Regions from separate parts of the Homo sapiens genome. Here all the other regions are linked to region 1. Evidence: promoter capture Hi-C in 16 types of primary human blood cells and fetal thymus (Javierre and others, 2016). All regions are on one chromosome and are shown on one strand. Each heading gives the region's core, a stretch centred on a gene start or on the middle of the fragment in contact. The rest is flanking DNA. Distances are from core to core; before and after follow the strand shown.

What was found. Contacts are between HindIII fragments. The CHiCAGO score rates a contact against its expected background, and 5 or more counts as called.
Region 2: a fragment that was not itself captured here is called in contact with the fragment with the promoter of QTMAN-AS1 in region 1 in 1 of 17 cell types (neutrophils); the score reaches 5.6 in neutrophils.
Region 3: a contact is called between a fragment that was not itself captured here and the fragment with the promoter of QTMAN-AS1 in region 1, in 1 of 17 cell types (neutrophils). The highest score is 6.3, in neutrophils.
Region 4: a fragment that was not itself captured here is called in contact with the fragment with the promoter of QTMAN-AS1 in region 1 in 1 of 17 cell types (neutrophils); the score reaches 6.6 in neutrophils.
Region 5: a fragment that was not itself captured here is called in contact with the fragment with the promoter of QTMAN-AS1 in region 1 in 1 of 17 cell types (neutrophils); the score reaches 7.5 in neutrophils.

Annotation. Positions count from the first base shown.
Region 1 is chr2:143,934,095-143,940,021 of GRCh38, reverse strand. QTMAN-AS1 (QTMAN antisense RNA 1) reads right to left here and starts at 2,955. Exons shown (of 3, transcript NR_110237.1): 1 at 2,386-2,955. It overlaps QTMAN (queuosine-tRNA mannosyltransferase), which reads left to right. Exons shown (of 12, transcript NM_001376312.2): 12 at 1-1,954. RefSeq lists a silencer at 2,454-2,653 and an enhancer at 2,848-3,531. The HindIII fragment of the contact is 2,667 bases long and covers 985-3,651 here.
Region 2 is chr2:145,730,969-145,736,895 of GRCh38, reverse strand. No RefSeq gene overlaps it. Among named protein-coding and RNA genes, the nearest start is that of LINC01966, 850 kb to the right of the region's middle. The HindIII fragment of the contact is 1,423 bases long and covers 2,342-3,764 here.
Region 3 is chr2:145,415,197-145,421,123 of GRCh38, reverse strand. No RefSeq gene overlaps it. Among named protein-coding and RNA genes, the nearest start is that of LINC01966, 540 kb to the right of the region's middle. The HindIII fragment of the contact is 1,648 bases long and covers 1,612-3,259 here.
Region 4 is chr2:145,397,623-145,403,549 of GRCh38, reverse strand. No RefSeq gene overlaps it. Among named protein-coding and RNA genes, the nearest start is that of LINC01966, 520 kb to the right of the region's middle. The HindIII fragment of the contact is 3,241 bases long and covers 547-3,787 here.
Region 5 is chr2:145,032,973-145,038,899 of GRCh38, reverse strand. All of the region lies in intron 3 of TEX41 (testis expressed 41), which reads right to left. The region is part of intron 3 of LOC100505498 (a long non-coding RNA gene); the gene reads right to left. Among named protein-coding and RNA genes, the nearest start is that of LINC01966, 150 kb to the right of the region's middle. The HindIII fragment of the contact is 1,590 bases long and covers 1,991-3,580 here.

The DNA of each region.
Region 1 (5,927 bases), core at 1,706-4,205:
GGTAGGATGGGATTTTACGGGCAAGTATTAAGCTCTTGGAAAGCTTCATTTGTTGCCCTCAATCCACACAGCAGAAAGAAAGAGAAAGAGACAAACATGGTCAAAGAAAAGTATGTGGACAAATGTGGGGGGTAGAAAAGGAAATGAAGGTTAAGCAAGGCCAATATAATTCAGAATAAAAGGGAGGGAGGGAAGTATAAGGAGCCAGCTGTAATTACTGAATGTTACATTAAGAAGAGCTGAAATTGAGAGGGGGAGGTCTTGAGTATTTTACTAAGTGGATTAATGTCCTCTTCCTCGGGTGTCTGAAGTTGCAGATTTTAATTTATTTGGTGCAGGGATTTATTACAGAATTCTTAATGGGTGGGGAGATAAACAGGGACAATTATAAGCTCTTAAGAAGAAGAAAAGAGGACCATATAATACTTTCTATAAATTTAACTGTAATAAACAGGGTTTCAAGCTATGGACAAAGATAGTCAAAAAAAGCATTTATTCCATGATATAGGACTAAAAGGGAAATAAGAGGTGTGTCCAAAAAACTTAAAGACCAAAACAAAGAAAGAAAAACCCACATAGATGTGTGATGCCAGGATTTTGAATGACTTGGGAGCTAGTTATTGCCGCTCTCCTTTCTCCACCCATTTAAAAAAATAAATCATAACTCTGGCATTTAAAAACCTACTCATGAACATCATTTATTAATATAAACTTAATCCTGTGCTATTCTTTGGTGGGTGGTAAGAACATGAATTAACAACAACTGGACTAAAACGATGGCAACAGGATGATCCACTCAAACACAGGAAAGCTGTAAGAAAAAGAAAAACTCCTAATCTGCTCTTTCACCTTACTTATTTTACAGAAGGAGAAAGCCAAAAAGGGGAGAGCATGTGGCTAAACCACAGAAAGACTAGATGCCTAAAGGAAAAATTTTAAAGTGTTCCTAAATAGGTATTAGAAGGGGAAGGGGGATGTAAAGCTTATGTGATTTACATCATTTTGTTAATCTGCTAATCTACTTCCCTGGAAGGTGAGAAAGAGTGTTGTCTGCCTTCTGCAATTGAAGAGACTAGGGCAGAAACTTAATTATGTTCTTACCCTGTGTATACCTGGCTGTCATCTGGCTGGCAACTAGTCCACAAACTATTGGTTCAGGCATTTGCCTGGCAATAATGTTAGCCATCATTTAAATTGTTAAATATGGATCAGAAGATCTCTAAGAATTACTGATATGCAGCTATTAATACTGGATGTAAATAATATTATTTGGGGTGTGGGTAAATCATTTGACTGGAACCACATTTAAAAAAAGGACTTGGAAATTTTATTTTTGAAATGCTGTTGGGGAGATGGCATTGATGAAAAAAAAAATTGAAAATGGAAAAAAACATCATCTACAAAGAGATGGGTAAAAATGACTAAGCAAAGAAGCCTTGTCACCTTCGACCTGATGCTTCATTGTATCAGAAGAAAGTAAACAGATTGCTAACAAAGAGACCACCCCTTCTAATTTCCAAAACCGGCCCAGCAACAAGAGGGAGAAAATAGAGAAGAGTGCACTGCGTGGTGGCTCAGGGTGATCCTTTAATTTGAGTGTTAAAAATGAGGGCACAGACCTAGAGGTTTTTAATGGTCCGCGGGTGGACTTCAGATTCTGAACACTCCTCCACCTTCTGTGGAGAATTCGGGACACGGTGGAGTTTAACCAGTATCTTAAATCCCAGGGACAGGGTGGAGATTGCTTTGTGATCCTGATTAATTAAAAGGAAAGAAATCAAAGCAGACATCTCTCCTTTTTCCATTTGAGCCGCAGAGCCATGGAGGGGAACTTGTGCTCTCTGGTGCTTGCAGCTATGTTCCCTGGCTTTCATCGTCTTGGCTTTTCCCCTTGTATTTCTAATGCTGTGATACCAGGCCAATAAAATGGAATCTACAAAACTGCAAAACAAAATTGTGTGTATGTGTGTGTGTATTAGAATTTTACTGAAGATAATTGCAACACTTTAAGCACAAAATTTTTAACTTAAAATGTATGAGTAATGAAGTTTTAAGAAGCAAAATGTGCTCAAGCGGAGTATTTGTAGTCCCTTTTTTGTAAGAGGTTCCCCAGACCTCTGGGTGCATCAGCAAACTGTCCTACACGATGGAGCGTGCAGCTGCAATTTGGCCCCGGGCACCACCTATCCAGAGTTACTACCTAATGCATTTTACATTTGCACACATTGTCAAGGGGTGGGGGGCAGCTAAGAAGGGGCCTCCCCCCCACCCCCCAGCGTTCTGTTTCCTTTTGTCGCGGCCGTCAGCTGACACGTGGAAAATGTGGTGTACGGTTTTGTTTGCCTTTTATCTGTAATTAAGGATCCCTTGTCTGGGGCTTGCTACCTCTTTTCTTTCTGCCTCCCTGCCGCTCGGGTCTTCCGCCCTCGGTCAGGTCTGGCCTGGCGCACCGCAGCCTGGGGACTCCGGGTCGCCGGGCGGAGAAGCAGGCAGTGGGCGCAGGGACCTCCGCGGAGCCCGGCGCTCGCCTGCCGAGAGAGCGCACGCCCCGGCACGCCGGCCCCGGCTCGCCCGAGCCCCCGACCAGCTAGTGCCTTGCGTCGGGGCAGCTGCGCCCGCGTTGCCCAGAGCGGGTCGCCTTGCCGCGCGTCCGTTCCCTCCACACCGCTGCGCCTGAGCGGCCAGCGAGCCCGAGCTCCGGTCTGCGGCGGCGCCCGCCCTCGACGCCTAGCTCAGTCTCGTCCAGAGCGGTGGGGGGAGTTTTCTGCACCTTTCAGGCGCGGGAACATGTCGAGGGACGGGGGAGGACGTTGAGGTCACGAAGTCATCACCCACTCCTCTCGGCTGCGTGGGCGCTGCGGGAGCGCAGAGCCGGAGCACGAGGGGCTCGTCCCAGGGCGCGGGCCCCGCCAGCCCCTGGCGCTCCCACCCGCGCGCACTCCCTCGCACACCCGCGCTGGCACGCGCACCCTGGCGCGCGAACTCCCTGCCACGCGCGCGCTGTCACGCACACACACCGGCACGCACCCGCCACGCTCGCGCCGACACTCCCAGGCTGGCACACGCACACGCGGTGGGGACCCACCCCTGCCCGGGTTTGGCTGCGCCGGGCTCGCGTGCTCTCTCTCGGGCACCCCCGGGAAGGGAGCGCAGCTCGGTGGGCCGGCACCCTGTGCTTTATGCGTCTGAGGATTTCATTGAACTCGGTTCCCTGAGTCGGCCAGGCTCAGTCCTCAGCGAGGGAATACGATGAAGACGCACTAAGCAAAACCAGAAACACCGATGCCTACTACCTTTTCAAAAAACATAACTTGCCCTCAGCAATCCCGCGAAGGGGAGTGGGGATGGGCACGGGGACTCTCCGAAAGGGATTTTATCTACACAGTTTAGAATAACTCCTGTCTCTGGTATGTTCGGATATGTGATTTAAATCTCACCCCCCGGACGCTTTCTTTTTCACTTCACACCTGTATATTGAAATACAAACCTCATTTCTCCTCCTCACCACCAACTGGTTATTTAGGAGGAGTGGAGAAGAGGAGTTAAGCAATATTGGGGCAGGAGAATATTTAGAAGCATTACATTGATTTGTCACTCATTTGCTCTGATTAGCTTTTTGAAAACTTGTGAAGATATTCCTATTTTGAAGCTTGTATTTTGTTAAAAGCCTCCCTCACACTGCCGTGATTTATCATTATTTATCTGAGTATACACACGTATGTATAGGAGAAAAGGAATGCTGATCCTTCCTGATTTCAGCAGTGCCGTTTTCCTTTCTATCCATGTGGTTTTAGCATAATTTTCTCCCTCTTTCTCACCAATAGAGATATTATAGTACGCAAAAGCAGGGCACACCTGTGACCAAATACAAGCAACATTAGCCTGGAGTGTTTGCGAATACTCCTTGTCATCTGTCGCTCAAGATTTCCCCCCTCAGATTTGAAATATTCCCCAAACTGGTTTAAAGGTGTGAGCGGGTGGGTTAACACGTGAGAGCAGTCCAAAAGTAAAGCGAGGTTGGGAGAGGGTGGCCTACATAAACCAACTCTTGGAAGGCTGAACAAGAACGCATGGGAAGTGCATTAAGAAGAGACTGTAAACAATGATAATCAGGGCTTTCAAAAATCATAAAACGGATTGAAATATCTGATTCATTATTTATTCATCACAGCGCAACTTTGCGAATCTGAGAATAGTGTTTGGAAACCAAGTGCCTTCTATTTAGTACATCAAATCAGCAGATGGGTCTCCCTTCCAAACTGCGGCTAAAGGGTTAAAGCTATAATTTTAGAAAAGAATCTTAGGAAATGACACTCAGATCTAATATATTTCCTTTTCTTTCTGGCAATAATATCCCCCAAAGAATAAATATATACTTATTGATATCATGATAATGTTTCTCATTCTGAGTACAAGTGTCAGACTGATTCCCGTTTGTGTAAGTGTTTTTAAAACTGCGAGGACACTTTCGCTACTCTGAAAGCTGACGAGCCAATGAAGGGGAGCTTCTTTTAACTCCATAATAGCAGGTTACATAGTAAATGAACACTGATGGTCAAATAGCCAATTATGGTATAAATATCCGTTGTTTACAGAGAGGTGTTAAATGAGCCTTGGAGTACAAGGGATTAGGCCGATCTATGCTACAATTTGTTCTTCAACCCATTATGTCTTCCCTTTAAAAGGCCAGTGCCATTGTAGGTAGTACGCACACAGAACATACTTCTCTATGTTGATTTTAGTTTGCTTTATTTCGATGCACACTGTTGTTTACTTTTTAAAATTTAAATAAATGTCAGCATTGTATAATTTCTATGTTAACAAAGCAGTGAGCAAAATCCCTTGTATGTTTATAAAATATTATTGTTTAATTCACATAGTTTAGAAATTCCAAATGTTGAGAATAGGAAGGAGGCCAAATACCATCTGTTTATAACTATGATGCATCGTAATATGTGTACTTTTAAAAGGAGTTTGGTCAATCATGCCACTATTTTATCTGCTCGGAATATGTTGGAGATTTAAAATGTAATTTACAGGATTACTTTTAGTGCGTTGCATCCAACTGTGAGTTGTAAAGAAATCGGTCTCTTCTGTTTTTCTCAAATTAATCATGTAACAGCCCCAATTAATGGGGGCTGTTAAACGTGTCGCTTTTTGCTTAGCTCCAGAATTCTTCTAACTTTGGCTCAGTCCACCTTCTTGATGCTGATAAAAACTCCAAGGACAAATGAAACAAAACACTCCTAGCTGTGTCTTTCTGCCAGGAGATAGTCACTAAGAATGGCAGGCAGGATATGGTAGCTAATAATTAGCTAACATCAGCCCTGAGAAATTACCTGTGAAATACCCTTTGGTACTGAATTGAAAAACATCTGACACTCCCTGTTTTAAAATAGTATTTTCTTGTCCCCGAGACTTCTGATTTAACTTACCTTTTATTTCAAAGGCATCTAATTGCATACCATGTAACAAAGGGAGTATACTTACTTGCAATAGATGAGCAGGTTTTTGTTTTTGTTTTTAGTTACAAACTCAAGTTATTCAGTTAGGAACTCTCCCTTGCTTTGCAAATCAGGGAATCTCAGCAACTGGGCCTTCAATTCCAGGCAGCCATAGTTTTAAATCCAGAGGTGGTTTTAGAGTGTCACACCATGGGGTCTCTTTTTCAAGAAGGAGGAAGTGAAGATGAGCTCAGATGTCTTGAAAAAGGTTTGAAAGCTGTGATAAAAACATTTATTAGCAAATGATGGTTGCTTGATTGATTTTTTAACAAGGTAGAATCAGTAAAAAGCTACATCTTGAAATGCTTTTATAAACACATGCAGAAATATGAAAACAAACTCCCAATAAACTGGGCATGTTCTGGATGTTTTACTTCTCAGTTGAGTGTTCAATGAAAAAATGGTGCTGTATAAAGTGGTTTC
Region 2 (5,927 bases), core at 1,804-4,303, 1.8 Mb before region 1:
TCCGTTTATCTCTACCAATCTCTTGTGACTGACAATTATCCATAAGAAAATTGGGTAGCAGTAACTCATTTGCAAGTTCTTCCACTTTGTGTCTTAAATTAGAAAAAAATGGGAGGCATATGTTTTGTTGCTTTGTTTCAGGAAATAGGATACAGAAAGTAGTAGAAATTAACACGATCAACTCTAAGAGGTCTAAAGCTTTAATAATATTATATTTGTACAAACTATTACTTAGTATTGACGAAATGTCTTGGGCTTTGCTTGACTCCCGATTCTTATTGCTAGTCAGAGGCAACACTAGTTTATTATCAGGACTTATTTTTAGCTTTGTCTCTGAGTTTTTTGTGAGATGAGTTGCGGTGATCTCATCAAACCCTAGTTTAATAATCACATTAAAATTCTTAGATTGTGTAGATGGTGACGTGTTTCATTTATAAAATTAGGATTCGTAAATGATAGTCTTAGTAAATTTATTATTCATATGCTTTATGCTATTTCAGAATAACATGAATACTAAAAAATTAAAAGTAAAACCATTAGCAACATAACCTTCAGCATATTTTTGTGATGTCAATAGAATATGCAAATATGCATTGTTAATAAAAATAACAATAGACACCTTTTAGAAAATAAGTATTAAAACTTCGGCACTTTGTATTTTTCTCTATTTCTTTTACTTTTTGATATTGATTGATTTTACCTTCTCATTAGCCAAACCCAGTCTATTTCTTACAATGAAACTTTAAGATAGGTGCTATTATCCTTATTTTACAGGTGTGAAAGATAACACTCAGAAAAGTGAAGTAAGCTTAAGTTCATAGAGTTAAAAGCCAGTGTAATCAGGATCCATACCTAATGTTATCTCATTCCAAATCCTGTGTGCATTATCCCAAGTCCTGTGCTTCCCACTATAGCATAGACAGTATGTAAGATGTACTGTAAGTGATATATTACATATGCATTGTGAAATGAAAATAATTATCTTACAACTCCAAACTCACTATGCCAAAGAGAATAGTCAAGCTTGGGAAACGAATAAAGTAAAACTGCCTCCCGTTTTGTTCCTAAATAGATAGCTACAAAGATAAAAGGCTACATACTTCCCCAAGGGGCCTCCCTTACAATTTGTTCAAAAAATAATTTCTTGTGGTTCCCAAGATTCCCTGAAACAGTCCTGTTGACTTTTACCCTGACAATATACATTAACAACTTATCTTCACAGGTATGGGACAAGGACAGGACTAGGAGTCATTACTCCATTCAACTGAGACAAATGCATGTTCGACTGCTTCCTCCACTCTATGTTTACTTTATCTTATGTAAAACTACAAATTCACTGAGCATAATTGACTATTCCTCGACCCCCTCCTTTCATTTGTAATATGTGGCTTCAGTGAAGGCTGATCAAAACCTTAAAAGAATGCAACAACTTGCTCCTTTTATCTACCCTCCCCATATTTTTTCTTTCCTCTTTCCCCTACTGCCCCCCTTTTTTCTCTTTAAATATTGAAGTCCTTAAATCCTCTTTGGAAAAAGCAGGAATCACAGATGTTTCTGTGATTTTTTGTTACGTTTTCCTTGGTGCATCTTCAACCTTGGTAAAATGAACCTCTAAAATGATTGAGACTCACCTCAGTAATTTTCTTTGATTTACAATATATAGAAAAGCAAGATTTCACATGTAAAATCTTTCCAGCATTATAACATGGATAGATTGAGGATTAAATGTGACAAGGTGCTTATTAAAATGTAAACCAAAATATTGTCATTCATATATGTATATATATGAATATATATACAATCATAGAATTTGTAATCCTTACAAGTCCATCATATAATATATGCTAGTTTAGTGTATAGGGTAATTAATCATATAAACTACATGCTATATATATGCTTTTATTAACTGCTTATGTGATCTTTACGCCACTGAGACGCCTAGAGGTCAAAGTTACTTATAATTTTATTGGCTTACTTTTCTTTTAATATAAATATGTATGAATAACAGCATTCACAAAAGAGTTATATTTCTATTATAATAAAATATTTCCAAACTACCAAATATTTATTAAGGTTATACCAGATAGCATACTTACTCTACTTTCTTGGTCAACAAATTTATTATGATTTTACCATTTAAGTTATGTTACTTGAAACATAACCAGGCCATTTGTGCTGTGTGCAAAAATTGACCAAAAAGTTAAAGTCACTAAGTATCATTTACATTATTTTGACACTCCATATGATGTTCCTTGTTGGGTGAAGTAGTGAGAAATACTAATATATTTCTATTGCTATAGATCCATTTTCTTCTCCAAGGAGAATATTCATGGTTCAAGCTTACCAAGTTGAGTGAATTCCATTTTCTTAAACAATTGCTCACAATTATACCATATATTTCACCTGGTGTTTGGATAATGATTTTACTTCTTTCTTACATAGATCTTTCCCTAAAATTTTTATTTTCCCCCACAGTGGGGTGACCTTTTAATTTAACTTGTGTCTTTAACTTTGTGGTTCCAGCTTCTCAATTATTCTAGCTTTTGCATATTCTCCGCTTATGTGAAAAGTTTCCTATGAATTTTTCAGTTTTCCTATTTCAATCTGGACTTTTTTTTTCCTCTAGGACTACCACACGCGTGACATGCTGGAAGTCTACTCTTTCCTACATTATATATTTTCCAATCTCTTCATATGCTTCCTTGTTTAATTTAGTATAGCTCAACAAACTGTTTAAATTACCTGAAAGGAAAAGATTCAATTTTCACGTATCTAAAAGTGTTCTGTCCTCTCACAAAAATCTGATAGATTTGCTGGGTACTGAATAAAATATTCAAATTAATTTCCCTTTAAAATTTTGTAGAGTTTGCATCACAATCTCCTAGAATCCAAAGCTGTAATTGAAAAACTGGTAATTTTTTAAATTTATTTTTTGGAAGTTAAAGTTTTCTTTCTTTAGTAAGTGAATATGTCTAAGTATGAATCTTTTCTTTCATTCATTTTGGTGGGCATGCCGTGGGCCTCTCTAAACTGAAGATGTGTTCTTTAGCTTGTGAAAAGACCTCTTTCTGTTCTACAATTATGCCTCTTATGGTGTTATTTTTGGTCTAAGTATATGATTTTTTTAAAAAAACTATTTTGATATCTCATAACGTGATTTTTAAAGCTCTTTTCTGTTTCCTAGTTATGAATTATTTTTTTCAAAGATCAGTTTTTCTATTTATTTTTCTTTGTATTCTCCTCCATTTTGTTGTATCTTTTGTGTGTATCTGGAGATTCTTGACAGTCCATTTATATTTAAGATTTATGAAATGTGAGTTTCCTCTGCTATTTTGCAAGCAGATAAATTCCATAATAGTCATCACCCATGTGAGAGAAATATGGCTGGAAGTAACAATAGAGTCTCAGGTTTTGTTTGGAGTTGGATGAGGAAGGAGCTGGCTTTCAGCCTGGAACACTTATATTCCAATTTGCAGAAGGCTTTGTCCTGGGGAAGCAGCACCTACACTAAAGCTCTCCAAGTTATTTGAAACTACCCAAATAATAAATTTATTTATATATTTACTCATTTATAATTTGCCTATGGGATGAAGCCAACCTGCTTCCTTCTTTGCATAGAGATAGCAGAGTAGGAAGACACTAATTTTTCCCTATATAGATTTTAAGCTAATCTTCTTCTCAGCTCCACTTTTCACTTCTGTTCTTCATCAGATCTACAAACTTTTATTTAAAGTCCTCCTGGAATTCTGACAGAAATGTAAGCTTATCAAAGTATGTTCTGGGTTGTAACTTCTTCTGACCTACCCACTTTAACTTGTCCAAGAATAAATTGAAAACCCTCATCTACTCATGAATACCTCTTACCTATTCTCTTTACTCTTACGGGTTATCACATTTTTGTATTTTAGGCCTTGCCTTTCATTGGATCTGAAGGATGAGAAGCAAACATATCTGTTCAGTCATCTTGAAGTGGGACATGCCTTTTTATAATGTCAAATGATACATTTACACTATTTTCAAAATTGTAGATGGTATCTCCTGAATTACCAAGCATGTAAAATGAGGAAATTAGCATACCTATGCTTTGCTCCAGTTTTTTCCCTCCCTACTTTATCCCAACTACTCTCATCATTCCATAATGTTTAAATCACAAAATTGATAACTCTTGCATCTTTTTAAGCCAGTAACGTCTTCTGTGCTTGTTAAATATAATGATTCTGAAAATTGAAAACTGGAAAGCAGTGTTTATGAATTGTCCTATACAGAACATTATATTCAAGGAATTTTTAAAATAAAAAAGGTTTAAACTTATAACTATGACAATGAGGATAATAAATTAGTTCTCATATTCCCCAAATAGTATTCATTTCTTTAATAAAAATTAAAAGCTGAGGTTATTAGGAAGTTAATTCATGTTATAAGTTCTGCATTGCTATTGGTCAAGTAATATTCCAAATACCCAAACACAATGACCTTTTTCCTTTCTTTTATTTTCTTTTATTTTTTAACAGAGTCTCACTCTGTCACCCAGACTGGAGTGCAGTGGCGTGATGCAGGCTCACTGCAACCTCCATCTCCCGGGTTCAAGTGATTCTCCTGCCTCAGCCTCCCTTGTAGCTGAGATTACAGGTCTGCACCACCACACCCAGCTAATATTTTTGTATTTTTAGTGCAGATGGAGTTTCACCATGTTGCCTGAGCTGGTCTCAAACTCCTGACCTCAAATGATCCGCCTCTGCCTCCCAAAGTGCTGGGATTACAGGTATGAGCCACTGCACCTGGCCACAATGACCTCTTTTCTGATGACTTTCTGTTCAAATATCCTGCATGTACTTCCTCCACAGCTTCAAAAGCCCTGCCTTCTTATTATTATTATTACAGAATCTTCCTGATCGCTCTCTCATAGCCTCATTTCTCTTCCCCAACACACATTTTTATGTACTATTGGCTTAAATTCCATGCTCAAAAGTCACATGTGTGTATGTGTTTTTCTCTTTCCATGGTTTGACATCTATGTGGTTTAGCAAAAATTACACTTACCAGCTGGAAGACAATCTTTCTTAAGTTTGTGATTTGTACTTCCCATTGCCTATTGAACATTTTTGCATAGATGTGCCATGGACATGTGAACAGAATTCATTGGCAATTACATTTCCGCCTCCACACTGACAATGCTTCTTCCTTGGGGGTTTTCTGTTTCAATTATTACGTCATCTTTTATAAAGTCTTCTAGGCCAAAAACGTAATTTTTCTTCCTACCCCCTTTTATAGTTGCTTAGTTTTCTGTAGTGTTTCTTCCATCTATCTCTTTCTGTCTGTCTACTTTATGGAGACCTAAATTCATCATCTTTTGCCTGTCTAACCACAATGATCTCCAAACTAGTTTTTCTCTCTAGTTACTGTCCGTCCCAATGCATACTTTGCAATATCATCTTTCTAAGGCCAAGAAGATATTAACTCTTTGCTCCAAAACATTCAAGTATCCCCAAAAGTCTTCAAAAATTAGAGGCAGGGTTCCTCTGTATTGCCCAGGCTTGTCTTGAACTTCTGGGCTCCAGCAATCCACTTTCCTCGGCCTTCCAAAGTGCTGGGATTATAGGCGTGAGCCACCACACCATGCTGCGTGATTCTTAAGCACACTAATACTGAAAGCAACTGTCTTTCTTGCATTTTTCCACTTGCAATAAAGCAGAACTCTCCTGTCTCTTCTCACTTGTTTAATTTTCATAATAATGTTAATGATGAGTAATATTTACTAAACATTTGTTATATAGCAAATATTGCATTAAGAACATTGTATGCTTTATATCATTTAATCCTCACAACCAACTTAAGAGAGATTCAATAATTATACCTATTTTGAAGATCTGCGAATCCATGTACAGAGAGGGTAAGTCCTTTGCCTCATGTCACATATAAAGTTCCAG
Region 3 (5,927 bases), core at 1,186-3,685, 1.5 Mb before region 1:
CTATGCTTTAGCAAAGAGACTGGCAGCATTTTGGCCCTGTCTTAGAGATCTGTGGAACATTCAACTTGAGAGAGATGATTTAGGGTATCTGGTAGAAGAAATTTCTAAATAGCAAAGTGCTCAACATGTGACCTGGGTGCTCTTAAAAATGTTTGGTTTTATGCATTCACAAAGAGATGGCTTGAAATTGGAACTTATGTTTAAAAGGGAAGCATGGCATAAAAGTTTGGAAAATTTGCAGCCTGATGATGTGATTGAAAAGAAAAACCCATTTTCTGGGGAGAAATTAAAGCCTGCTGCAGAAATTTACATAAGTATTGAGCAGCCAAATGTTAATTACCACGACTATGGGGGAAAATGTCTCCAAGGCATGCCAGAGGTCTTACCACCAGCAGCTCCTCCCATCACAGGCCCAGAGGCCTAGAAGAGAGACATGGTTTCATGGGCTGGGCCCAGGGCCTTGCTGCTTCACAGTCTTGGGACTTGGTGCTCTGTGTCCCAGCTACAGCTAAAAGAGGCCAACATGCAGCTGAAGCCTTTGATTCAGAGGGTTAAAGCCTCAAGCCTTGGTGGCTTACACATGGTTTTGGGCTTGTGGGTACACAGAAGTGAAGAACTGAGGTCTGGGAACCTCCACCTGGATTTCAGAGGATGTGTGGAAATGCCTGGATGTTCAGGCATAAGTTTGCTGCAAGGGTAGAGCCTTCATGGAGAACCTCTGCTAGGGCAGTGTGTAAAGGAAATGTGGGGTTGGAGACACATACAAGTCCCCACTGGGGCACTTCCTAGTGGAGTTGTCAAAAGAAGGCCACCATCCTCCAGACCCCAGAAAGGTAGATCCACCAACAACTTGCACAGTTTTCCTGGAAAAGCTGCAGACAATCAATGCCAGTCCATGAAAGCAACTGGGAGTGGGACCAGACCTTGCAAAGCCACATCAGTGGAGCTTCCTAAGGCTGTGGGAACCCACCTCTTGTATCAGCATGACCTGGATGTGAGACATAGAGTCAAAGGAGATCATTTTGGAACTTTAAGATTTAATGACTGCCCAGCCAGATTTTGAATTGTGTGAGACCTGTAGCCTTTGTTTTGGTTAATTGTTCCCACTTGGAATGGGAACATTTGCCCAATGCCTTCACCCTCATTGTACCTTGGAAGTAACTAACTTGTTTTGATTTTACAGGCTCCTAGGTGGAAGAGACTTCCCTTGTCTCCAATGAGACATTGGACTGTGGACCTTTGAGTTAATGCTGCAATAAGTTAAGACTTTGGGGTAACTGTTGGAAAGGCATGATTGTATTTTGAAATGTGAGGACATGAGATTTGGGATGAGCCGGGGCAGAATAACATGGTGTGGCTCTGTCACCACCCAAAGTTTTATCTTGGATTGTAGTTTTTCTAATTCCCACGTGTCAAAAGGGAGACCAGGTGGAGGTAATTGAATCACGGTGGTGGTTTCCCTCACACTGTTCTCATGACAGTGGGTGAGTTCCCTTGAGATCTGATGCTTTTATAAGTGTTTGGTAGTTCCTCCTGCAATTATTCTGCTTCCTGCCTCCTTGTGAAGAAGGTGCCTTGCTTTCCCTTCACCTTCTGCCATGATTGTAAGCTTTCTGAGGGCTTGCCAGCCGTGCAGAACTGTGAATCAATTAAACCTCTTTCTTTTATAAATTACCCAGTCTTGGGAAGTTCTTTATAGCAGTGTGAAAACAGGCTAATACGCTGGGGGACCTGAGCACCAGTTCATTATGCTCTCATTTTTTCCTGTAAGAAAAATCATGGGCCAAGGGGTCTCTCTTGGCACTCAGCTGTGTAGACTTGCAGGAGTGGCAAAATGGGCAAAGTAAAGCTATTATTTTTATCCTCTTTTGCGTGTTTGCTGGTGGAATTTTTGCTTCAGTGGTGTGCTGAATCTTCTTTGCTAAACCTGCATATTCCTACAAATGTATTCTGGTCCATGGGTCATTGTCAAAATCAGCGCACTTTGGAGATCATGACAGAAAACTCTTATCCACCATCTTGCTGATGTCACTTGTTCCAGGATGCTACATGAGATTATCTTCCTTTTTGCATATTTCTTATTTCATAGGAAAGACTGGAGTAATTATACCAGCCTGTGCTTTTGACCTCTTCTTCTGGGATGTTTGTATTTTTAAACAGATCGAAACAAAATGGGAAGAGTTTAATTAAATAGAATGGTAGGATTCCAGACACTTTTTGATCCTTTCCTTTGAGTGGAAGATGCTCTGTATTCCTGAAACCAAATTACAGAGGCCTGTGGCCTATTATGACCATTGGAAATGAGTGAATTTTTTTAAAATTTTATTTTTATTTTTAATTTACATAATTAGCTTGTTATGTCAATGAATAGCTGCAGACTAGGATGGGTTAGAATTTAGAGAAGGCTTCTTAAACAAATACCTTAAAGTTCAAAATTTCAGACGTTAAAATAATTAAAACAGCATACAATGGCTATGTCTTTATATTTACCAGTGAAACATCTGTTGCTATAGGTTAGTATTTGGAGCAGGAGGAGCAAGTAATTTGCCAAAGTGGCTGTAGCTTTAAAAGAGAAATCACATAACTTCTTTCAAAGATAGGAAATATTAAGGCATCATTGGCACTGTAGAGTGATGCTTTCGGAAGAGATGCCATAATGCCAATATTAGCACACACTTTTATTTTTTAACTGGTACACTGCTTGCTCAGACCATATAAAATATTAGAAAATGATCAAATCCCAGGACATCATTGGCGAACTTTGCTTCAGATTCTGTGGCTAAATTTCTCTATGTTTCATAACATTCGGAAGTGTATAAACCCATAAGGGTATACTATGGGTCTTGGTTTTTTATTTTCTTTAATATACAGTAACTAGAAGCAGAAAAAAAGTTTAAGTGTTTTTTTTCAACAAAAGGCTACTTGAAATGCACTGCTTTGTTCACACATAAACTACTCTTGTAAGAAATATTTGTTCTTTTTTGTTCATAACCTGCCCTTATGACAAGGGTGAAGAAGAAGAATAAGTTGCCTGAGGCATTTACAAACCTTACAAAGACTTTATTAAAAAGAAAACTACCCACGAATTTACTACCAATCCATCTAGATCTTTTACTATGTTGTGTCAGCTCTCATGAGGAACCCATAACTTGAGAAATTTAAACACAAAAAGGCACAAAAGCAACTACAAAATGCAAAGAGCAAACCATTCAAAGATATATTTTTTTCTAATACCTACTTGAGGGAGAAATCAGAAGCTTCTGAAAAATGGAATCTGCCCCTACAAAATTCAATTAATGTTCAGTTAAGCTAAACCACTAAATATTTACAAAATCACTACTTGTGTAACATATATTTTATAATTATAAAGTATATTTATGACATCAGTAAGCCTATCAAACAAAGAAAATAAAGTTAGAGAAATTTAAATGATAAAGGAAAAGGCATAGCACAACTTACAGATTTAAGTAATATTTTATTGCTTAACACTTTAAGGTTCTTTATATCTTTTTTGCAACTAGGTTGCTGCCTCAAAATGGAAGGTGAATGAGACCTGCCATTTGTCATAGGTATTTGCATTAAATTCTCTAGACTGTCCATCCAGAAAAATGTAGTAATACTTTTAAGCTTTCCAGGAAAACAGGGTTTCTTCTGGTTAAATTTTAACCTGTTTTGAAATAACTATTCCATAATAAAATTTGTTTGAAGTGCTGAAAATACCAAAGGCCTGAATTGGGCAGCAAACAGTGGTGGGCATTCTGCAGGTGACTAAAGAACTATTAAGGTCCCCCCACTTTATGAAAAGGAAAATTAAATTGTTTCAGTGACAATAAAGGCATATCAGACAGGAAGAGAACGGATATTAAAGTTCTAGCATTGTTCTTAAATTGATTTGTTTTATTGAATATATTTCTTTGCCACTTTTTCTAATCACTGAACTGAAAATGATAGTTTCTATATACCTGAATGAATTCTAAGGGGTAAATAAATGTACCTTGAAAAATATGTAACATAAGTAGTTACATACAGTTGATAAATCTAATGCAGCGATGCAATTTACATAAGTGCAGCTAATATTAGAAGAATCTTGACATTGCTTCTCCTTAGAAATGTAGAGAGCTGGAAAGAGCATCCCATAAAATCTCACACAAAAAAAATATTAGGGCAAATAGAAAACATGTGCTTTTTTTTCTTAAACACACTGAATTCTTCAGGTTTTAGGGTCACCAACTGGCCCAAAGTCAGAGCCAAGTGCCTGAAGGGAAAGATAAGACATGAGCTGTAGAGTTCAACTGTGATGACTCATGAGTTGGTGGAGGGAAAAGAGGGTCAGGTACTTGAGAGCCTCAAATTTCTATCTTATTTTGAGATTTTCCTTCACACGCCCCACTTCATGCTCATAGAAAATACTGGAAGAGAACTGAGAAAGTCCCTCTCATGGCCGGTAACTGAGGGAGAAAGCTATAGCTATTAAGAAAGGGGCATCAAACTCCACTGAGATCTTTTTCCTTATCTCCTCTATAAGACCATGACTTAATTTGTGGGGGAAGGGCAATGACACTGCCCCCTTTTGAGTACCTATGGAAACTTATTGAAACTTGGAAAAGAAACAAGAACAAAACCTTGTATCTCTGAGGAGGGAGCAAGAACATATGCCAGGGTCAGAATATAGATTTCGGGGAAAGAAGGAATACTGAAAAGGCAACATTTATGGAACTCAAAGACAATGATTGTGTAAGATGTCTAACACTGAGGCTTAATTGGAATAACAGTGAATACTCCCCCACAGTCCACTACCAAGCTGGTATGTATCATGTCACAAGTAACCTGAAAGACTGAGACCCTCTCTGACATTTAGAGAAAAAAGATAATAAAGTTGTTGGTAGAGTAAAAACTGAAAAAAAAAAAAGCATTCTGACACACCAGCCTCCATCATGAATGCAACATATTGCTAGAAAAGAGGATGTTGAAGCTTTTGCTGTCCTGAGGTAACCACAACAACTATAAAATTCGTACTCAGCTCCACTTTCAATTAGATTAACTCAACTCACTCTCTCACCCAAGGCCTAACAGAATGAACATGTACATAAAACCTACTACCTCAGTCTCTACTATCCTATATAAAATGTCTATCTTTAAACGAAGTATAACATATAAAAAGTCCAGTGGTGATTGGGCAAGCTTCTAAGAGACAAAGCCATCATTATAACTAGACTCGGATATGATATAGATGTTAAATTATCAGACATATAATTTAAAGTAACTCTGATTAATGTGTTCACAATCTAATGGGAAAGTCTGACAATGTGCAATATGTAATGGGTAATTTCAGCAGAGCAATCGAAACTAAAAAGAGAATCAAATTATCATGCCAGAAATTATAAACACAGTAACAAAGATGAATACTTTTGAGGAACTCATCAATAGATGTGGCATGGTTGTGAAAATAATAAGCAAACCAGAAAATAATTGCATAGAAATTACAGATGGAAAAACAAAGAGAAGTATAATGGAAAAACACACACACAAAAACATACAGAACAGAGCCTTTAAGAGTTATGATACCATACCAAGTTGTCGAGTCACATGTCCAAGAAGCTCAGAGATACCAAGAAGAATACAAAAAGAGTTTTTAAAAGTCTAGCCATGTCAAATTCAACATGCTGAAAAAAAAAATACAAAGAAAACATCTTGATGGCAGCCAGAGAAAAAAGGGACATTACATCCTGAAGGATGAAGGTAAGAATCCCACAGACTGCTCTTCTGGAGTCATGAAAGCCAGAAGACAATGGAATGACTTACTTTCAAATGCTAAAAGAAGAGTCCACACAACCAAAATATTCACAAAAGCATAATTTTGGCTTTCAGTTAAGTCTGATTGGCTACACATGTTTACCACTTCTCCTTCCTGCAAATTAAATAAAATA
Region 4 (5,927 bases), core at 918-3,417, 1.5 Mb before region 1:
TGAACAGCATTTTTTAAAAAGTAAGAAAGAGAATGCTTGTCTTCTGGCCCTGACTGTGTATAAAGTATTAGGAATCTGAGATACAGGTTAGAAAATGGGACCTGGATCCCACACTCTGGTCAAAGTTTAGCAATGCCTGTACTCTGTGTAAGTGCAAAACTTTACATTCAGAACAACCCTCATCAAATGAGGCTTTGAATTACTGACAGAGGAAGGACACCTAAAATCTACTGTGTAATATCTTTTAATTTGCTCTGATGGCCTTAATTTTTACATCAGAAAAGAAATGGGAAGGTCATTCATTTATTTATTAAAAAATATTTGTTGAATATGTGCCAGGTATTAGGCCATGCACTGAGGATACAACTCAAAACAAGAGTAACACACTGTCTGTTCTCACAGAGCTTACAGTCTAGTGGGATCTACTGAGGATAAGGTAGGAAATTGCAAGATGATGTCATCAGTACTATCTGGAGTGGCAAGCCATGTGTTAGAAGATCACATATGATGGATGTACAACCTGGACTTTAGAGTTTAAGAAAAGCTTCCTGGAAGAAGTGAAGTTTAATCTGAGGCCAAAGAGGTAACCAGGATTGCTCTGGTGGGTGAGTAAGGGGAACACGATTGTTAGCGTTAGTCATATTATGTGATTCATGTCATATAATGAAAAATTGTGTAAAGGTTCATTAACATGGCTGGGACAAACACAGCTTGAATGCTGGGAAGAGAGCACTGATGACCTAGAGGATGAAGCAGGAGAGATAAGCAGGTCCTTGAAAGGAAGAGTCACTGAGAAAAGTTTTCCTAATGGAGACAATTACATGATCATATTTTGATTTTAGAAATACAATGTAACAATGTAGAAACAACTTGCAAGCTATGATATTAATTTAAACGGGTAATTCCTCACTAAACTGGGGATGGAAAGAAATTTAGGGATTTAAGAAACAGTTCAAATGTATAACTCATAAGACTAGTCATTGGTCAGGTGTGTAGGATGAGGGAAGAGAGAAGAGTCAAAATGATGCCTGGGTTTCTGTAGTGATTGAGAGAATGGTCTTACCATTTACTTGAGAAAAAAGGAAAATAAGTATATTTAGTGTTCAAGATGATATATTTTCTTCTGGCAAGTTTTTTGGGGGTAAATCTGTTAGTAGTATGTAGGCATATTGATATATATACCTAGATCTCATGAAAAACATCTCAGCTGGCAGTACGAATTTTGAAATTATGTGATCACATGAGGTCATCCAGTAAAAATATGTGAAATAGGTCTTCCTGCCTCTATATAACTGGTAATGATACCAAGTTTAATGAGCAAGGAAAGGTATAAGATGCAGCAAAGAGGGCTTCAAGGAGCACCCAGAAAGCTAGGAAAAGAATTTGGAGAATAAATAACAGTGGCCAAAGGAACAGAACATTTCAGAAGAGTAGTGGGCAACAAAATCAAGGGTTGCTGAGAAATCAAGTTGAATAAGGGGTAAAGGTTATCTGGAGGATGCATTAATAAGGGAATATGTAGCCACCACACTGTGATCAATTTTAGCCATGGGGAAGGTAAGAGCTAGAGTGGGTACAAAGGAAATAAAATGGGAAGCAATGGAAGCAGTGCATCTAAGAGTGCTTTGGTGATGTTTGGGTTGTTAGGAGATCTATGAATCAAGGCTGCAGGATAATGGGGGAATAAAGTGTCTTTGGATTTTATTTTAATATGGGAAATGTTTGACCATAGTTAAGTGCTACTTGGAAGAACACAGAAAAGGAGAAGGAGCTAAAGATGAAGGAAAGAGGGGAGGGAAGCCGCTAGAATAATTGGCAGGGTGTGGGAGGAGTTTCCATCTGGTGGCTTCTATTTTTGCTCTGAACTGGTAGTCAAGTTGATCTGCTGAAAGAGGGATTAGGTTTCTCAGTCAAAGGATTGAGAAGAGGAGAGTAGGCTTAAAACATTTGTGGAAAATAAGAGAGCGTGGATAAGGAAATCCTTGATTTCTAAGCAGCATGTACGACCATCTGAACTTGGAAACTGTGGAATTATAGTTGTGATCAGCAACATGAGGTAGATAGGGTGCAGTCAGACAGATGAGTTGATTCATGGTAAACATTTTTTCCAGAGGGGTCAGGAAAAGATGAATGAGACTTGAAGATAGGACTATTTGTAAGAATTGAAGTAATGGAATATGCCACTTTACGCTAGATAGGTAAGCAAATATTCTGGTTTTATATATCGCTGTGTAATATACTACCCCAATAGTTAGCAGCTTAAAACAACATGTTCACAAATCTGGAGTTTGAAAGAGTTCATCAGTTTCACAGATCATCACCTGGAGAATCTATTGGAACTGAAGAATCCACTTGTAAGATAGCTCACTTACAAGGTAGTGCTGAGAAGTCAGTGCTGGCTGCTACCTGGGAGCTTTGCTGGAGCTGACAAGAAGCAGCCCAATTTTCCTCCATATGGGTCCCTCAAGGAGCTGCTTTGTGCTTTCTCAGAGCATGCTGGCTGGCTCCGGAAACACCTATCTCAAGAGGCAGGAGGTGAAAGTGGATGGGCTCTTAAGGCCTGAGCCCAGATAGTGACATGGTATCATTTTTGCTTTATTCTTTTGGTCAAGCAGTCACTGAACCTGCCATGATTCAAATAGAGAGGATGTGGAATCCTCTGGTTGGGAGGAGTGACAAAGAAATGTGCTGCCATCTTTAACCCACCTCAGTGAGGAAAGGCAGAAGGGACTGAGAAGAGACTTCATGAAGCAAAAGGATTAACAGCTGTAGTGTGTAACATGGATTTTCTGCCCAGATCCCCTTGGTTACGACACATTTGTATCCTTTTTTGTGCTCTGAAGGTCACCTTGGGAGAAAGAACACTCCATGAATGCACATGGAATTCAGAAGGATGAGAAGGTTTTACTCAAGAGAAGTAGAGAGTTTTCTTGGAGGAGTACCAGATTTCTGATATGAGAGAACATGGGAGACTGTTGCATAGGGAGACTGAGGTTGGAGCTGTGCTTGTTGATTCTTAAATGGGGAGTCTGGCAGACATAAAGTAAAGTTTTAGGAGAAGGAATAGGATGATGTTGTGTGGCTGGAGAGCAGAAAGCTGGGGGATAGATGGTAAATATCCAAGTCGATAGCTGAATGAAAGGTAATGTGTTTGAACTGGCCACTTAGTTGCCTGTAAAGAAGCCCCTGATGGATGTGAGTGAGGCAAGGCACTTGGATTTCTTCTTCAGAGTCTACCAGAGCCTAGAAGGAGTATATCTATCTAAATAAATTGTCTAGACTTCCAGAGGGTGTCAGCTGACATCCATTGCTGATATCCAATGACATCCATATATTCATGCACACGTGAGTGCATGTATGTGTGTGCACATGCGTGCATGCGCATGAGTGCCCGTATACACATTCAAACTGCTGTGAAGGGGCTGGCTGAGAGGCCCAGAGTGTGGTAGGAGGTCTTGACTCTGAGATCTTAGCAACACCCTGTCCAGTACAGGTCCTGCTGACCACAGTGGCCACTAATCCTAAGAACCCCCTTGTCAATGGTCCTGGGAAGAGATATCTAAAATATGTGTAGTGCAGGGATAAAGATTTCAAGAGAAAATGCAAGACATATGATTTCAACATCCCCTTCAGTTAGAAAGAACAATGAATTAATCTCTTATTGATAACTGAATTCAGGGAATTTTAGACCTCTGCCCTTAACTCCAAGTAGAATACTCGTTTATTCTACACTTCGAGTAAGTAATCTGCCCTCCCCAGGATTCTGGAGTATCCAAACCAAGAAGCTTGTATTTGCCTTCCCTTCACTTGCTTTGTCCCCTGCTGTCTCACACACTGCCACTAACAGATGCCTTAGGTTATTCCTCTTATGGGAAGGTTGATAACTTTAAGATGGAAGTGCTTTCTCAACCCAGCAGTTCAAGAAGAGGTATGACTACCTTTTAGGTTATGGGATTTTTTAGTAGCACACAGACATAGGTAGTTTTAGGGGATCAACTTCTAGCTATTCAAATTCCATCTAAAGTTTCTTCCAGAAAATCAAATTGCCTGAGAATGACCCTCTTCAAAATAGTCCCTTTACCCATTTTACAGAGGAAATAATCATCTCTCATCTATCCCAAATTTTAAGATGGTGCATTTTCCAGATATATAAAAATCTTCTAGTACCAGTCAAAGGGAAAATCAAAACACTGGGTGTGAGGCACCTTCCTTTACAGATTAATCAAGACTTTCTGCCTTTCCTTGTCTTACACATATTTCCACTAAAAATGAAGATTGGCATTAAAAAAAAGATTGGTCAGTGTTGGAATGTCCCAAATTCAAACTTCCCAAGTAATGTAAGTTAGCGATATTGATTATTCCAAATGTAACCAGAGTGTTTTCCAAAACAATTTTTTTCCAGGTAATATTGAATAAAGCCAAAGATATAAAAGTTTTACATGATTTCTTTCAGACTTAGTGTACTTTATTTAATAAGATAGTTAAAATCTATTTTATCAATATATAAAATTTTTGTTCTAATTATAGTCAAACCTCATCATATTTCATTTTCCAAAATTGTGCAATATTTTAACTTTCTATTATCCAAAAATAGCCTTATTTAAACCTATAACAAAATCTTTCACGTGTCAGCTTGTGAATATGCAAAGAGGAGTACATAAATTTCAAATTTATTTTATGAGGTACCTAAGTAAAAAAGTTTGAAGATTGCAGTTTTTGTCTAATTTTCCTTATTTCTTGGAGACTTAGACCCATGAGCTACTGAGCGATGGGAGATTCCCAGTGGTTCTTTTTTATTTTAACTAAGTATCTTTGTTGTACTGAATATAGCCACATGCAGACAGTGGCCTTGTGCTGTTTTATTCTGGCTTTGTCCTTGGTGTATTTTCCTTAGCAGTGGAAATTAGTTTTCTGCTATTTCTTGATGTAGAGTTATCTATAAGGCATTCATTCACAGGGCCCTACTCTAAGCCCTTCGGGTTTACCCTAGGTAAGAAATTCTGTTTTGGGACCAAAAAGTGGCACACTCCACCCTTTTTGTTTCTATTGGTAATTAAGAGAGGATGGGTACAGGCCAACAGATGACATGCTGGCTCAATCTGATGATTTTTAACTCCCCTAAGTACCCATGTAGTGACGGATAGGTGCAAGTAACCACTACGGTTGTACCCTCAATCTTCCTAATATTTCTTCATTACAAGAGATAGTCTGTGCTATTATGTAGTCAGTCTTTGAAAGAAGAATTTGACTCACTAAATCTGTGGTAAATAGGAACAAGTTAATTTGCACTAACTCTCTTCTCAAGATCAACTAGGAGGAATTTCAGAATATTAATTTTTGTACAGTATGACTTCACTAAATTTGGGTGGGTGTTAATGCAAAATTAATAATAATTAGGCGGGTTGGACTAAAGCTTAACTTTTTACAGGTTGTATGAAAACAAACACAGTGTAAACACAATTACATTAGAACCTTTGAGGAGCATTTTCCTCTATGGATTGTCAGTGCATACACTGGTAATAAAGAACAATTCTTTTCGACTTGTTTTTGTAAAGGCCCTGATGAACCTCTCCTTGTAAGCATATAGACTTTTATCATAAGCATTGAAAGAAAATTGTCCTGTGTGTGGTCTTGTAGTATTAGTTCCTGAACAAAAATAAAACAAAAGAAAAAATAAAATATTTGAAGTGTTCTAAAATTAATAATTTTATAATTTTCTTCTAATTAAATATAAAATAAATTGAAATAATAATAAGTAAGGACAATTACAACCAATAATATTTAATGGTTTGCCTATTGCTTTTTTTATGAGGGGCAAAATCATATAGTGATTAAAAGTAAGGACTTTGGAAGTCAGACATCTTAGGTCCAAATTCTGGTCCTGGATCAATCTGATGATCCTTAACTCCTCTAACTGCCTATGTAGT
Region 5 (5,927 bases), core at 1,536-4,035, 1.1 Mb before region 1:
GGGTGATATTTTGAAATGTGAATTCATATATTTTCTATATATTTTCTTAGACTTTCTTTATTTAGCCAATTAATATCTTCTATGCTTTTGCCTCAGGAAAGGAATATGCCACAACTTAAATTAAAAAAAAAAATTCAAACAAACAAGTCTATTCTTAGCTTAGTCCTCAAAAGGAAGCAAAGAAATAAACCTCAGGTTGTAAAAAATGTATTAATCAGTGAGTTAGAACCAAGATATCATATTTCAAGATAAAGTATTCAGTTTCCTAGAGGATGATAGGGTACATGTTGAGTGAGTCCTGAAGAAAGATTTCTGGCTATCTGCTTCCTCTTCTACCTAGTCAGGTTCAGGCAAGGGAAAAATAGAAATCTTAGATTGGCTGGCTGAGTGTGAGGAGACTGGTGCTCCTTTCCCACGTGGAGACTTGGGGGTGGGAGCAGCAGGCTGCAGGCTGTCAGGCCTGGTGGATCTGAGTTGGCTCAGAGAGTGTTTGCATCTCATGACAGTAGCATAATGCCCATGTGCTTAAGCGTAGCCAAAAATATGACAAAAGGCCTCTCAGAGATTCCTGTGACCCCAGCAGACCATGAGACTGGCAGAATTTTGCTCAGAGATGCAAGAGGGGGCCTGGAAAGGAAGAGAAAAAGAAAAAACCACCAGTCCTGAACCGTTTTGCCAGGCAGGATCCAGAAGCAGCCCGTGTGGACTAGTGGGTGAAGACCAGGACACCAGACATCTCAGAGGTTCCCATTCAGGCTGTGACCTTGACACTTGATGTCCTTGCCTGAAGCCTTGGCTCTGCGTGAGACCCGGTGCTTTGACATATCCTGTTTTGGGTGACTGTTGCCCCACTTTCCCTCTCCCTTACACATCCTTCTTCCCACCCATCAAGGACTAACCAAAGAGAAGGACGCAGGGTCTTGTTCTTTTCTCAGGGACCCACCCATTCTAAATTTTCAATGTTTATTTTCCAACTTTCTGTACACCTCCCCAGGCTGAGAAGGTTTTAACTAATGGCAATAAGGCAGCTTGGCTCTGAATGTATTGGGTAGTTTTTCAAATGTTTTGTCTATGCCCTGAGTTTTTCTACTTCCCCAGAAAAATAGGCTTTCGAAACTCAAAAGCTAAGACTTTACCAATTTTTACTTAGCATTTTACCACGTTATTACTTTCCTGAATTTTAGGGGAAGAACTAAGGGTATAAGGATATAAAAGGTAATGTATCAGCTAACATTTCAAAACCGTAACCCACTACATAATTATTTATGTGTAGTCGTAATAAGCCTTGAAAGAAAATACAGAATTCACGAAGAGTAGAAATTAGGATGAAGCAAATACAGTATATGAATGAATTATAAGGAAGGACATAGGGAATAAGAGAGAAAATAGGGAAGAAGGTATGTATTTGTGTTCAAATATGTGTGTGGGGGGCGCTTAAAAAAATCTAACATTCAGTAAATAATAGAAATCATAATATCCTGAAGTTATCTGAGACAGATCTTAGTACTTAAAGAAAGGCATGAAAAATGCCATAAAAGTGCTCTGTTGTAACATCAGAATTGATTTGTATTTATTTTTAAGCACTGAAATTTTAAGATGCATATTAGCTATTCATATCACCATACAAAGACAACATTTTAATTACAATTAGCAAAACTGCTAAATCCTAGAAAAGACACCATCGCTTCTAAAATCCTCTGAACACTCTCACAAAGAAAATACCCTTCTCTGTCCCAGTTCCAACCTCTCCCACGGTCCTTACTCCAAAGCTCAGTTAGTGTCTTGGTCACAGAATAGACGAAGAGGTTTTATGTAGATAAATGAAATCAATAATATTTCACTCATTTTACAAGTTCATAAGTTATACATGCAACAGAAACAGAATGCCCAAGAAGGAAACACCAAATAGTCCTGCTCGATTTGTGTAAATAGATGACATTTTAGAAGGCAAAATCTTGACTATTTTCAGCTGACAAATTCTTTGGAAGCTTCTTAAAAAAATAAGCTGGCAATGCTCACATATTTCAACCTTAAAATGAAAGGAATCTCTGAACTTTCCTTCTTTAGCAATAAACTCCCTTAACCCCTTCCCCTCCACACCATAACAGCAACAACAAAAGAGTATCGGCTAAGATTCTTTGTATGTGTGCACACACCCCTCTTTGCCTAGAGCCAAGTTGAAATTGAAACCCGGAATCTGAATATACCCTTCAGATCTCATTAATCAAGTTTAATACTTGCATTTTTCTCTTTAGTTTAGATCACATTTTCTCTTGATAAAAATGGGTAGTTGTGGTTTAGAAAATGGGAAAACTGGACCAACTATGAACTAGAGCAAAGTTGAAGACAACTCTAAATATTCTGAGTATGTTCCGTGATTCCATGAGCTTTCCTGACAACTGGTCATTCTAGCTTCACCGCATCCTGTGGTATAATGTCACATACCCAAAGACCATGATGCAACATGGCACGACTTCAGGAGTAGGAGTTTCCATTTAAAAACAATAAATAAATTGTTTTTCCAAGTAAGTCCAATTATTTTACTGGGTATTGGCTCTGAAAAAGAGTTGTGAGTTTATTAAAGATATTTAGGGTGCTGGTTCTGTGAAACTTAGCTGCATGTGGCTATTGGATCGCTTATCCATTTTCTCTGCCATGTAAGAAGAAAACATCTCAAAATATAACTATTAGTTGGCTTTGTGGTGTTGGGTTAGTGTGCCAGTCTGAGGTTAGAACAGAGATGGGATCCCAAGCCCTGGGCTTTGTATTATATAGTATTGTATTTTTGATGTTGTACTTAAGGGTCAATTACTGTTTCCATTATAAACCCTGTTTTTCAAGGGTTTATAGCTCACCAATTTTCATTTTGGTATGCAAGCTGCATGAATATACAGGTTTTAAAAATAGCTTAAATTGGGCAGTGCCATTTTTAGATATAAGTCAGTAAAATACACTTTTCATTGGTTTCAGTTTGTTTTCAATGTTTCCAATCTAAAAATTTATTCTTAAAGTGCAAAAATGCACACCTTATCATGCTTTTTCATAACAGCTTTGCATAGGGGAGCTGATAAAGGGAGTAAAAAATATATCAAATGAAACTTCAAAAAAGAAAACAAAAATAACTTCTGTGAAAATTTGTAGGTAAATGTCACTTTAGTCAATGTTCTCAAAAATCAATAAACTAATCAATCAGTATTTCCTAAGCATGGGCACTATTTTGTGCTCAATACTGTGGTCAGTACTGTGAGGAATAGCTCCTGTCCTCAATGTGCTTGAAATCCTAGTTCTTGGGATCCTTATGAGAAACAAAATTATGTAGCTGGAGCTCTGGACTTCTTTAATTCTTCTTAAGTAGCCAACGCTAGTAGGTTCTAACTATGAAGACACCAACATTAAGCATAACAGCACTGTACATTAAGGCATTAAAGTGGTAAATCATTAGCCAAGACCTTAAGAGGCAAAGGCAAAGGCACTTAAAGAGTTCTGCAACTTATTGGTGTCCTACAAAAAGAGCAAAGGATTCCAGTGTATAGACAAATGCCCAGATACAGAAATGTATCCATCTATGGTCCTGCAAGCTTTAAAACTCCTACCCTGACCATCAGAATTAAAAAATCCCTACCTAAGAGTGAATTGTTTTCCCTACCATTCTGAATTTTCCAAAACATAAAACAAATTAAGTTTTGTTTTACTGCAAACTAAAATTCTTAAAAGAGTTGTCTACCTTATTTCTACTCTCTCACTCAACTCTCACACCTCAACTTATTCTTCCCTGGTTTCTAGCACTACTGGTTTCCAGCACTCTACTCGTACTGCACTTACCTAAGTTACCGATAATCCTCTTGTTGCTACTGCCAATGAATAAGTATTTGCTTTTATCTCTTACCCAAATTTATCTGTATTTACCAGATTGCCACAGTTTTCTATCTTTTGTCTCATAAAGACCTTTGTCATTTTGTTGTTGTTGTTCAACTCAACCTCTACCCTCCCCCTCCTATTGTCATTTCTACTTACCTTTTGGGGAATGCTCCATTGGTATGGAGTTTTGGTGGGTGACAGTTGCTTCTCATTTATGGAAACTGAAGGGACAAAACCTTCTCTTTTCCCTAGAACAAGGTGCAGTGCTGTAAGCAAGGCTCAGTTAATCAGATACTTTCTCCTAGGGCTTGAAGCTTGATCAAGTCCAGATGTAGGGATAGTTAGAGACCATTTTCATTTACTGGCAGTGACAACCCTCTCCCAATTCCTTCTGCATTGCATTTATTGTCTTTTATGCTATCCAGTTCTCCAGAGCTTGGTTTATTCATACCCATTTTCCAAACCTAGTTCTCCATATCCTCATTATTTCTGTTATCTCCGGATATTCTTCAGTAAAGTTATATTTGTATAAGATACTCAGCCACTGTTTCTTATAAAAACATTGATTGATATAATTTATTTCTGGCTCTTGTTTTCTGTAGTGTTTATAGGTTCATTTTCCTCTGTTTCTTAAGTTACTTTTAAGTTTCCTCTGTCTATTCCTTATCTACTAATAAGTTGCAACTCCCCCAGATACTTTTTAATGTCCCTTCTCATTTCACTCCACATTATCTACCTGTGCTTATTGCAGCTACTCCCTTGACCTCAATCTCATCCATATGCTAACGACTTCCAAATCTATAAAGTCATTCTAAGTCTCTCCTCTGATCTTCAGATTTTTTATTGATGCTATTTTTAATTAATTTATTATATAAATATTTATTGAATTTTAACTATTCATCAGATATATAGTAGGAGATATGGTTTGGCTGTGTCCCCACTGAAATATCATCTTGAATTGTACACAGAATTCCCATGTGTTGTGGGAGGGACCTGGTGGGAGATAATTTGAATCATGGGGCCAGTGTCCCCCATACTGTTCTCGTGGTAGTGAATAAGCCTCACGAGATCTGATGGTTTTATCAGGGGTTTCCGCTTTTGCATCTTTCTCATTTTCTCTTGCTGCCGCCATGTAAGAAGTGCCTTTTGCCTCCTGCCATGGTTCTGAGGCCTCCCCAGCCATATGGAACTGTAAGTCCAAGTAAACCTCTTTTCCTTCCCAGTCTTATGTATGTCTTTATAGCAGCATGGACTAATACAGTAGGATACACATACAGATACACACACACACACACACACACACACACACAGATAAGAATAAGAAGCAAAGTGATAAGGTTTTCCATTTTATGGAAGTTAGTCAAGTGGATTCCATAATTTTGTGAACTCCATAATGTCATGAGTCATCAATCTGATGGATTTCATATTCTAGTGGACTCCACAGATGCCATGCAATACTCAACATGAGATATCAACTTGGATATCTCAAAAGTACTGAATTCATTTCCTATCTCCCACACCTGCACCAATATATTCCTCCTACTGGACTCCCTATTTCAATGAAAGTATTCAATTGCTACGTCAGCAACCTACTGAAAACACTAAGTATTGCTCTTCACCCTGTCCTCACATCTGTACCAATCATTAAAGCCTGTTTATTCACCTTTCTCAATATATTTAGAATTTTTCCACTTTCCATGATCAGTTCAACTGCTTCCCTAAGTAGGCCTCCAACCCCTTTTTCTAGGGTCAGCACAACAGTCTGTTAACTAGTCTTGGCTTCTATGTCTAAATTGAAGCCAAAGTGAATTTGATAAAATGCAAGCTTATTTGTGATTATCTTTTCATTAAAACCCTTCGAGGACTCCATAATTATCTCAAAAATAAGTCCAAACTTTTTTCAAGTCACTTCCCTTCTCTTTTTTCACATTTTAATCCCTCTCTTATTGACCCACATGCTCCTCACTCTAGCCATCAGAAATTCTCTCACATCAGCAAACAAATTGCATGCTCTCTCAACTTGCCTGCTACTCGGCATATCTTCCCTGTTCCATATGAATTCCAACCAG